Linked DNA regions of Homo sapiens: region 2 is linked to region 1. Evidence: promoter capture Hi-C in human tissues and cell types (Jung and others, 2019). All regions are on one chromosome and are shown on one strand. Each heading gives the region's core, a stretch centred on a gene start or on the middle of the fragment in contact. The rest is flanking DNA. Distances are from core to core; before and after follow the strand shown.

Region 1 (6,163 bases), core at 2,517-5,016:
TAACAAATCTACACATGTACCCTGTAACTAAAATAAAAGGTGAAATTAACAAAAATAAAATAAAATAAAAATTACCTAGCCTCGGGTATTTCTTTATAAAAGCTACAAAAGAACAGACTAACACAACAAGCAAAATCCAATCTGCTGCTTATTCCAGGAAATCCCTGCTTCTGGAAGATAAGGCTGTAAACCCCCTAAAACTGGGTCAACACTAACAGTTTATTCTTCAAAACTCATTACGACCTTCCTTCACATGTTTACCAATCTAAATCTATTATATCCTAAACTGTGCAATCCCAGCTAGTTGCCTAACTTGTCAGATCCATCTTAATATTCTCCAGCCCAGGCCCTGAATCTCTAAAAATATCTTCCCCTGACCTTCCCCTTCCTAAGACACTACTAAGACTATCAAGGCGGTATTCTCCCTAACTGTAACAGGTCTCATAAACTTAGCTTTGCTTCAGCAAGAGGTTTTTCTGGTGGTTTTTTGCACAGTCAATAGTCAACACTGACCTCTTCTCGCCTATGTTTTTCTTCTTTGGGGATGTTATCTGCTGGTGCTATGTCCCCAACGATGCATTCTGCCATATCATGAACCAGGGCTAGGCGTACACATCTGATCAGGCAAGAAATGTCGAATAATTACACAGAATTATATTTACTACAAGTTCCTTCTCTATACTCTTCCAAAGTTATATAATATATATATTTTTTCTCCACCCTCACAGAGTATTTTAATGTAGTATTTTCTAAAGTAGTTATATTCTGCCAGCCTACAACAGTTCTGATCAAAACTGTTAGTTCATATTCAATAAAATACATGTGAGTATAGGGGAAATTGTTAGCATTAATTTTTTTTCTTAAATGGTTTATCTCTGAAATCTCACTTTAAAAGGCTAATAGGCCAGGTGCGGTGGCTCACGCCTGTCATACCAGCACTTTGGGAGGCCGAGGTGGCGGATCACCTGAGGTCAGGAGTTCGAGACCAGCCTAGCAACATGGTGAAACCCCATCTCTACTAAAAATACAAAAATTAGCTGGGTGTGGTGGCACACACCTGTAATCCCAGCTACTCAGGAGGCTCAGGCAGGAGAATCATTTGAATCTGGGAGGTGGAGGTTGTAGTTGGCTGACACTGCACCACTGCACTCCAGCCTGGGCGACAGAGTGAGACTGTCTCAACAAAAAAAAACGAGATTACATTTGACAACTTTCATGTTCCTGACACATGTGAATCATTCAATAAGTGGTTATGATTATTAGCGGTTAAGGAATAGTGGTTGTGATAATTCATCATCAAAACAGGAAGTCAAGTAATGAGATAAATGCCCCATAGGGCCAGTATGTTTTAGGCTCCCCACACTACCAAGGCAGTACAAGGCCCAACAGTGTCCTCTGAGATTTCCCTGCCTCTAGTCTCTTTCTGGTCCAGTTCAAATCCCAGACTACTCCAAACTGCATCTCTATTGGACTTCATTTTCACCTTGTACCATTTGCCAAAAACCTCCTCAGTTCCACTTCATCTGCTGAGTAACAGAGGACTCCTCAGGCTTCCCAAATGAACTCTTTGCTGCAGTCAAGTTGATTAATTTCTCATTTGCAAAATACTCCTTTACTTTCCTACACTCAGGGCTTTGGTTTATCTGCCCTTCTCTCTGCATGCAGTGACTTCTCCTACCTCTCTGGCTACGTTAACCCTTTTGAGCTCAACTCAGATTGCACCTCCTCCATTAAGATCAACCAAGAACAGGTGATCTCCCCTGCTCTTACAATACTTAACATTTTCGACCATAACTTACATTTCACTTCTTACAGAAGCTATTTTGGGCCTGCGTAATTCACTTGGGATTTATTTACTCTCTTACATGCTAGTAAACTTTTGTTCTGTGCTCAAAAAGCATTTTAACACTTGTCGATTAAATGAAGGGGGAGAAGATACCTCTTTCTCAGCTATGTCTTGCACACACAACTCCAAAAGGAAGCCTCACGAATGGATACTACTATCCATAAAAGGCACTAGGAAAGAGCACACAGTGTACTAATACAATGCTAGAATTTTAGACATAACACACTCACCTTCAAGGCCCCAATATCACACTTAAGTTTCCCCTGATACCCTAGGCAGGCTCTATCACTTGCCAACAGAAACCCCAGATTGCAGTTTACAACAACTGAGGCAACATAACCCACATCCTAAATTTGTATGGTTTGCTTCAAATAATTTTTCTTGACCTATAAACTAACCTACAAGGATTTGACATGGGTCTCAGTAGTAAAAACGGGTGCACACCCATAGACCAGAATCTCTCACGAGCATCAAAGTCCAGCTCAGCTTACCGGTCTTTGTTAAGACGGTCATCTTTGATCACCATAGCCATAACTGCCATCCGGTACATGTGATCTGAAACGCTCTCCGGCCTCTGGACATTTCTGTATACCCAGCCAGTTCGTGGGACTCTCTGATAAATATGAAGAAGAAAAAGAAGTTTTAAAGAACAAATATTAACTATCTGCTATGCTCTTCAAGAGATGTCCAGGATATAACACACAGAAGCCGGGTCATAATTTCAGAACCTATTACAAAATGTTTTGCTAAACTAGCTAAAATGATAGACATCTGGAATCAAATGAACTAGAGAGCTCAGAGAATGAAAGGGGTAGAAGACAGAGAGAGATAAGTCACAAAGTCCATTCGTCAAATTATTCTGTTACTGATGTATAATTATGGAACATATGCAAGTCCTTTAAACAAAAACAAAACTGCATTTTTCCGAACAAGAGTTGCGGCTTTTTGCCTTCAAATAATCCTACACAAGCAGAAAACACTGTATTGAAGGGTCTGAACGTGAACGAGTGATAGGCTTCCAAATTCTGAGGCACAAGGGATAAGGGCACTTCTAATTGCTTGATGCTACCAGCCGTGACTCTTCCTTTTATTCACATCATAACTTCATCTTGTGAAACTGCATTTCTTCCTCAGAATTCTACATCTCTAAGGAATGTTATAAATAGTAGTCAGAGTGGCATGAAACGGATAATTTACTTTGAACTTGGGAGAGAGACGGGGAAGACGCACATGATGAAACTCGTGTGTATTACATTAAATCCCGTTTGGGGGGTGGCCGGGAGAAAAGTCTTGTTTCTGGAAGTAACTGTGAGACAGACATAAAAAGCTCCACTTAAAATCTGAGGAGCCGACAGATTCTGTTCTTCCCACCCGTGCTCAGAAGCAGCCGCGCTTTACACACACACACACACACACACGAGTTCTGGGGTCGTGAGCACACACACACACACACACACACACGAGTTCTGGGGTCGTGAGCCCCGGAAAAGCTCAGTGCAGGCAGGGCCAGGCCGGCTGCTCTCCGGGAACTGGCGCGGCTGCAGTGCGGACCTCGCGGCGCCAGGCTCTAGGCTCAGACTCCGGGCCGCCCCAGCTGGCCAGCCTGTCCCGCCGGCTGCTTCCTCCGTCCACCGTCGGCAACGCGCGGCCGCATCCGCAGGACTGGGGCCTTTCCGGAATTCGGCGTGGCGGACGCGGCGCAGGAAGGGCAAAGACCGCCGGCCGAGCGGGGAGGCCGGAAGCTCCGCCGCCCCACAGTCCCGCCCGCTCGGCCGCGGCCTCCCGGCCTGGTGCCCGCTCACCTTGAGCTGCCCTACCAGCCGCAGGAACTGCAGTAGGGACCGAGCCCCGTGGCCCGAGAAGGTCGCAGAGGAGACCGAAGCCATGCGGCCACCGACCCCGGCTGGGCGGAGCAGGCCGCGGCGAAGCTCCTCCCCGTCCTCCTCCTCCTCCCCTTCCCCTTGTCTTTCTTCCCCCTCCTCTTACTCTTCTATCTCTTTCTCCTCCCCCTCTTCTTCTTCCTTCTGCCCCTCTTCCTGCTCCCCCTCTTCCTCCTCCCCTTCCAACTCCTCCTCCTCCTCCCCCACTTCCGCTTTCTCCTCTTCCTCTTCCTCCTGCCCCTCTTCCTCTCTCCCCCTCCTCTTCCTCCTCCTCCTGTTCTTATTCCTCCTCCCCCTCCTCCTCCTGTTCTTATTCCTCCTCCCCCTCCTCCATATTCTCACGGTTTTCTCAGGACCTTCTGTCCAGCCTTCGCCTTCTTGGCCTTGGTGTCCGCTGCTTGGGCATTGCTCCGTCAGTGGCAGACACCTTGCTTGGCACATACTTGACACTCAGTACTCTTTATGAAAAATAAAGCTCTCCTTTCTAAATTTATGAACCTCGTTATTCTTCAGTTGACAGTGTAAAACCATGAAACTGGATGAGGTCACCTGGCAAGAGGGTGTGAATGAAGAAGAAAAGACACCCAAGACCTGAACCCCAACATTTAGGCTTTGTGAGATCAAGAGGGAACAGCCAGTGAGGTAGGAAGAGGATTAGTAGGTAGGATAGTTGTGTCCTGGAAGCCATGTACAAAAATATTTCAAGAAGGAAGGAATATGGTCAACCAAGTCAATGTGAGGACCAAGGTTTGACTTCCAGACTTAGTAAATTCAATATTATTGGTTACCCTGACAAAAGCAGTTTTCAGTGTAGTGGGCCAAGCAGAACCTAGTGAGATAATTCCGAAGAGAATAGGAGCAAGTATTACAGCACATTGGAGATGGGGTTGGGGTGCTGTTAACTAGTGGAGAGATTGTTTCAAAACAGGAGATATTATGTATGTTTACTGATGAAGGGGATCTAGTAGAAAGGGAAACATTGATTATGTAAGAGACAAAGAAGAGAAATATTTGAATGTCGGCCTTGAGTAAGGAAAAATATTCCCATCTGGTGTACAAGATAAAAGATGGGCTTTAGATAGGAATATGGAGAATTCATTCAAATATTGGAGGAGGACAGAGTATAGGGTGACTAATCAGTCGCACATGTGGTCATGGGAGGTTGTAGAAGTTCTCTTCTGATTGCTTCTATTTTCTCACCAAATTAGGAAGCAAAGTATAGGCTGGGATGTTATAATAACAAACAACCTCCTTATTTCCTGTATCTCAGCAGTTTAACACATCAAAGGTTTATTTCTCTCTCATGCTAAGTGTCTATTGTAGATCAGCTAGAGGATGCTGCTTGCTCTAACCTTACTCAGGGAGCTAGGAGGCTTTCTTTGCTCTCTTTTGCCAAAATTGGAAAAAAGAAAAGTGGCACTCTGGCTCTTAAAGCCTGTCTCTGGAAGTGATATATGACCTTTTGTCTACGTATCATTGGTGAAATAAGTAACACTGCCACGTCTAACTTCAAAGGGGGCCTGTGGAGTGCAATCTTGCTAGGCCTCTGGGAAGAAAGGAGGCTAGAATGTTTGTGAATAGAGGAGGAGGCATTTGAGGTTTAAGGAGTGATATAGTTTGGCTCTGTGACCCCACCCAAATATCATGTCAAACTGTAATCCTCAAAGTTGGAGGAGGGGCCTGGTGGGAGGTGATTGGATCATGGTGGCAGACTTCCCCCTTGCAGTTCTTGTGATAGTGAGTGAGTTCTCATGGGATCTGGTTAATGGTGTGTAGCACTTCCCCCCTTTGCTCTCTTTCTCTTCTGCTCTGCCAGGTGAAGACGATGCCTGCTTCCCCTTCACCTTCTACCATGATTGTGAGTTTCTGCAGCCATGCTTCCTGTACAGCCAATGAAATACCTTTTCTTTATAAATTACCTAGTCTTAAGTAGTTCTTTATAGCAATGCAAGAATGGACTAATACAAGGAGAAAGAAGGCATGAAATAATTTTTTTGAAGACTGGTTCAGCAACAAGATTAAATATGACTAAGAACCAAATAAATGCCAAGGACATTGGGGCTTGTATTAAACGTGGTTAGGATAATGACCTGGAAGCCATTTTTATGATGGTAAGTGGTGCTAAATAAAGGAAATATCAAGCCAGGTGTGGTTTGTGCCTTTATCCCAGCTACTTGGGAGGCTTAGATGGGAGGATCACTTGAGCCCAGAAGTTTGAAGCTGCAGTGAGTTATGATCACTCCAGCTTGGGAAACAGAACCTGTCTCTAAAAAATTAAAAATTAAAAAATGGAGGGATCAAGGTTTAAAAAGAAGGATCAAGAATCAGAGGCAAAGTCAGACAGTCCACTGGAGGAACACGAAAGCAAATGACCAAAAAGATCCAGGAGAATAAGGAAGATGAGGATGTTGGATTTGCTGAAGGATGTAGTAAGGGG
Region 2 (6,163 bases), core at 1,318-3,817, 450 kb before region 1:
TATGGTGCCGTGATGTTGTCTATACTGAGATAGAAGCACAATTTTTTTTGTAAATGCAGAAAACATCCTCTTTTTTGTCTCCTAAAGTCTCTGGTTGTTGCATATTTTATTTTAAATATAACCATGTACCGAAGTCTGAAAAATTAAGAGTTCAAATGAACAGGCAGAGAAAAATATATGCTGTGACCCTCAGATCAAACAGCTTTCATATATTCATTAATATATCTTAAACATCTTTATGGGTTACCAATGATGCATAAGGAGCTGTGCTGGGTACTGTAAGAAACCCAAAGATGGGTAATATTCAGTCCCTTTCATCAGGAAGTTAAGAACCCAGTAGAAAAAATAATACATTCTTACAAATATAGGATGTTAAATACACATAGAAATGTGTCACAGAAGAAAATAAAAATACGTTTTTCTAGATGAGGGAGAAATTACTCTTAGCTGGCTTGAGGAAATGTGGAAGTTTAGGAGAGAGATCACAGCCCCTTTCCTGAAGGAAATAACATTAGGTTACTATGAAAGTAACTGTGTTTTTTGCCATTGAAAGTAATAGCAAGAACCGTAATTACTTTTTGCACCTCATATATGAGACATGTCTCATAGACTTGGATAAATACAAATTTAAAAGACAATCCCAAGGGAAAGGACATAAAAAACAAAGAGTACAACATACATAAAATCCCGGTGGTAAAAAAATAAAGCTATGTGAACAAAAATGAATAATTACTTTTTATAAAAATATAAAGTAATATGCTGAATGTAGATAAGGCCAGAGAGTTAAATGGGAGCAAGACATTATTGGGACTTAAAAGGCATTGGAACAGAATGAATCCAGGTTTGGGCAGGTAGAAGCTCACACAGTGTTTTAAGCCCTACTGAAGAAAAAGAATATATATAAAATTACATATAAAAGTAAACATGTATTCAGAATGAGAAAAGAAGTTACAACAAATCAAAAAGTTTTAAAAGTAGACAAACGCTACAAAAATCACAAGATCCAGAATCGATCTTAACGCTTGGATTATGTTACTATCTGAAATACCCCATTGACTGGCTACACTCTTCGATCATATTGCCACATGACAAAGACTATAACTCAGCCGCCTTTCCTCTAGCACAGCTGACCAACATGTTTTAATGATAGTATATAAAAGTGTCTTTCGGCTTCACAAAACATTGTTGATGATGGTAAATTTTTAGGAATACTGTCAAATTTGGGAAAGTGTTTATATTGCGAGATTTCAGGGCATTTCCAATTATCTTACTCAGTGACTAATTGTAAATATTTCTTAAATTGATGAAAAATTTGTCATTAATGTCCTCATATAGTGGCATATCATTCGTTTTATGCTATCTTTCTTGAAGGAAGTAATATGTGTCAAGAATTTAAATCTTTTTCCAGTGTGTTCAGATGATTCATGCCTCATGGGTAATCAGGTTAGTAAACAATTCAGGAACCTACTCATTATTTCTATTTGTAGAGCATGTGTCTTCTTTTTGATGAACTTAAAGGGAAGCAATCTCATAAGATGAGGAAACCTGAGGTGTGGCAATATCTATGGACCACTAAAATAATACTTTGAAAAATTTTAATTATGAATTATGTATTTCTACAGTTTGGAAACCTCATTACTTATTTCAGTAATTAAAGGTACTAGTGGAAATAGTTAAATTATTTTAAATGTTCAAAAATATATAACCAAAGAACACACCATCTTAGGAGGTCATAAAATTAATAATTCCTCCTGATGAAACAATTTATTATGATACATTTCTAGTGCCATCTAGTGTTTAAAAGAGTATATATGAATTTCTCAAAGACTATAGGCAAAATAAGTAAACAATTTAGTTTTAATTTTTATCAACATACATTCTTTGATTCTACATCTCAGTGATACCATCTAAGATTTTATATTAAAAATTGACAACAAAATAATTTTAAGCCCACAGAGCTTTTAGAAATTAATTAAATTCTTATGCAATAAAAGGAATTAATTCTGTCACTATGCTGAAAAAAGACAAGTCAGGACTTCAAGCTACTATAAGACAGAGAGACTAGTTCTCATTGAAATGTCTAATCCGATAGATATTTTCAATAGAGTCTTAGGTCAAGAAGAATATTTTTGGTTAAATCAAGATGAATTTAAGCTGTGTAAGTGATATCTTTTTAAACCATTATGACTAACTTTATAGCTCTACTAAAGGCAAAAGGTTTTATTTAACAAATCAGTCAGTTTACTGTTGCTGTCACCAAATCCAGATATTTAAGTATCTCAATTTTATCAAAATAACATAGCTTCCTTGATTTTACTATTTGTATCCTATAAAAACAATATTACATTAACAAACAAAAGCTTATCTAACCATTTTTTATTGTTATGTGCAAAACCTAAAACTAGAAATTTAAAAACTTCTGCAAATTCAACATGAGAAATAGGCAACAGACTTGTTTTCTTTATCCTCCTTTTACTATTAATTCACTGACAATATAAAACAGCTGATTTAGATATCATTAAACTCATATTGCTCTTCTATTCTGAGGTTTTAGACTGAGAAACAAAGTCAAAACAAATTACAAATTCAAAAACCAAATGCATACTGCAAATATCATAAGATGAGACACAACCAAAAAAGAGAATTTTAGACCAATATCCTTGATGAATGTTGATGCAAAAATCCTCAATAAAATACTGGCAAACCAAATCTAGCAGCACATCAAAAAGCTTATCCACCACGATCAAGTGGGCTTCATCCCTGGGATACAAGGCTGGTTCAATATACGCAAATCAATAAATGTAATCCAGCATATAAACAGAACCAAAGACAAAAACCACATGATTATCTCAATAGATGCAGAAAAGGCCTTTGACAAAATTCAACAACCCTTCATGCTAAAAACTCTCAATAAATTAGGTATTGATGGGATGTATCTCAAAATAATAAGAGCTATCTATGACAAACCCACAGCCAATATCATACTGATTGGGCAAAAACTGGAAGCATTCCCTTTGAAAGCTGGCACAAGACAGGGATGCCCTCTCTCACCACTCCTATTCAACACAGTGTTGGAAGTTCTGGCCAGGGCAATTAGGCAGGAGAAGGAAATAAATGGTATTCAATTAGGAAAAGAGGAAGTCAAATTGTCCCTGTTTGCAGACGACATGATTGTATATCTAGAAAACCCCATTGTCTCAGCCCAAAATCTCCTTAAGCTGATAAGCAACTTCAGCAAAGTCTCAGGATACAAAATCAATGTGCAAAAATCACAAGCATTCTTATACACCAATAACAGACAAACAGAGAGCCAAATCATGAGTGAACTCCCATTCACAATTGCTTCAAAGAGAATAAAATACCTAGGAATCCACCTTACAAGGGACATGAAGGACCTCTTCAAGGAGAACTACAAACCACTGCTCAATGAAATTAAAGAGGATACAAAGAAATGGAAGAACATTCCATGCTCATGGATAGAAAGAATCAATATGGTGAAAATGGCCATACTGCCCACGGTAATTTATAGATTCAATGCATCCCCATCAAGCTACCAATGACTTTCTTCACGGATTTGGAAAAAACTACTTTAAAGTTCATATGGAACCAAAAAAGAGCCTGCATCGCCAAGTCAATCCTAAGCCAAAAGAACAAAGCTGGAGGCATCACGCTACCTGACTTCAAACTATACTACAAGGCTATAGTAACCAAAAATATCATAATGTTTTTATATGTTTTTAACCTAGGTTTACTTTTTAAAACTCAGAGTAACAAACCACTCCCTTCAGCTCACATAGGCATTTGTAACAACACAGCAATGCCACGCAAAGATTACTCTCACTTCACACTGATGAAATGGAATGGTCCGTTTTATACGTCATCTTGACTGGGCTAAGGAATGCCCAGACAGCTGGCAAAATACGATTTCGGGGTGTGTCTGTGAGGGTATTTCTGAAAGAGATTACCATATGAATCAGTAGATTTATTAAAGAAGATTTACCCTCATCAATGTGGGCCAGCATCATCAAATTCACTGAGTGCCCAAATAGCACAAAAAGGCAGAAGAAGGGTGAATTTGCCTTTTGCTGCAGCTGGGACATCCATCTTCTCCCATCTGGGGTACATTGATGCTCCTGTTTCTGGGGCCTTTGGGCTTGAACTGGAATTACACCACCAGCTTTCCTGGGCCTCCAGCTTACTGATGGCAGGTCCTGAGACTCCTCAGCCTCCATAGTTGTGTGAGCCCATTCTTCAAAATAAATATCTTTCTATATGTCTATACATATACTATTGACCCTGTTTCTTTGGAAAACCCTGACCACTACAATTGGTGCTTCTAAACCCAGGTGGATGCACAATGTTCAGTCCTCAGGAGACTCATCCACACAGCCACCACCTCTCAGTTGCCCTGTTTCTGCAGGGGCAATGTTAATTACACTCAGACTGGTCAGTCTAGTCCAGGCTTACAAGGGCCAGGAGCACTGTACCAGGCATCATAGGACTACATTTCTAGGACTACATTTCCAGGACTACCAGGAAGTCATGGAAGTATTTGATAAGTTCATTCATTCAAGAAGTTTTCAATCAACAGTTTGGCAGTACTGAGCTCCAGTCAACCCCAGAGGAGGAGAACAGGGGGTGCAAGGCAGGCAAGTTGTGCTTGGCTAGACAGTCCCTAATTAAAACTGCTAGCAATAGCAGCAGTAGAGATGTGTGAGTATATGTGAGGAACTGTGTATGTGAAGTGACAAGCAATGCAGCTAAGCCTCTCTAATAGCCCAATGGAGTATATTTTGCTGTGAGACCATCTTTGATCCATAAGCACACATCTTACCTCTCACGTGGCAGGCTCTCAACTACTTTGCTTTACCTGCTAGGTACTAAATAAAAATACTCTGAATGAGGTCTCCCTTTAAAAAAAAAAAAAAAAAAAAAAAAAAGCTACTGCAAATGAGAAAAATTTTCTGTATCTAGAGAGGGAGTAATTTTTACCTTGTTAGTTTCTGATTAATGCAGTTGCTGTTAAATTCCACCTGCTGATTAGAGTTGCAACGTTAAAAAAGCTCCCAGAAATAGTTCTTGAATTATTCATCTTTAACCCTAAAATGTATTCTGGTTACAACAGTGGATAGTTAAATCTGGGCTGACAATTCTTACTTATACTCAATTTGAACACTAATCCTCAAGCGGAATATAGAAACGACAAACAAGAAAGAGTCATAAATTTGACCTGTCATTGTGTTTGCTCACTATTTTTTCCTTTAAACAACACATTACAAATTGCTTCAGATGTGATATAATCTTATTACATAACAAAAAGTTTTATCATTGGAACATTTTTAAACTGAATTTTTTTATTTTTCAAAAAATAAATTTATAGGAAAGCCACATATGAATTATATATTTTATTGTAAAAATATTTTTATTTAATTCATTCATTCTATCCTTTTTTCCACATAGAATTGCAATTAAGCAGTCTCAGGCACATGAAAGCAAATTATTTTAACCATCTAAGAAGTTCCAATCACAACTACCTTCATTTGATTCTTTCCAGTATTTCACAATTTTCTCTTTACAGAAATTCTGTCTAACTAATAAGTGTTTATTTTTTATCCTTGGGTATTTCTGTTAAATACCCAAGCCAATTTCTTAGGTCCTGTATTCAAAGAAAATCAATATTAGTGCATCATTCCTTTTCATATATATATGAAAAACAAGCTTTAAGATGCCTTGTGAAGCTTTCCTCTGTAAGATAAATAATCGTTTCTTTTTTTTGGTAGGTCTTTACTCCAAACCCTCTAAGTCAAAATAGTTTATTTACTTAAAAATTCATTTGTTTGTTCTTTCATTTAATATTAAAATCTTTTCTTGATTCCGAAAAAGCTGGAAGCATTTTACAGATTTAAAGGACAATTTTTTCAGAATAAAGCACAAAGGAAAGCAAAGATGAGTAAAATGTTTAAAGAGTGTCATAAGAAAAGGAGCAAATGCCTTAAGATATGAGACAGTTAATCTTTTATTATGCAATCCTGGATAAGCCAGTTTCAGTTTTTGAATTTCTAAGAGTCCCACAATGGTGAAAATCATTAAGCCACTTACGAGAGCTTAATGCTAATCATACCACACAGATTCTCGATGTTCTCTTGCCTACACTAGCTCAGGT

What was found. The method cuts DNA at HindIII sites, captures the fragments that hold promoters and counts their contacts. A contact is called where the count stands out against the background at its distance.
Region 2: a fragment that was not itself captured here is called in contact with the fragment with the promoter of HDDC2 in region 1 in 1 of the 25 tissues and cell types used here (dorsolateral prefrontal cortex).

What each region holds. Positions count from the first base shown.
Region 1 is chr6:125,298,201-125,304,363 of GRCh38, forward strand. It overlaps HDDC2 (HD domain containing 2), which reads right to left and starts at 3,767. Exons shown (of 6, transcript NM_016063.3): 1 at 3,649-3,767; 2 at 2,338-2,459; 3 at 514-616. The coding sequence starts at 3,732. RefSeq lists a silencer at 3,457-3,796 and a cis regulatory region at 5,290-5,470. The HindIII fragment of the contact is 16,583 bases long and covers 1-6,163 here.
Region 2 is chr6:124,852,728-124,858,890 of GRCh38, forward strand. No RefSeq gene overlaps it. Among named protein-coding and RNA genes, the nearest start is that of RNF217, 110 kb to the right of the region's middle. RefSeq lists a silencer at 3,783-3,983. The HindIII fragment of the contact is 3,311 bases long and covers 913-4,223 here.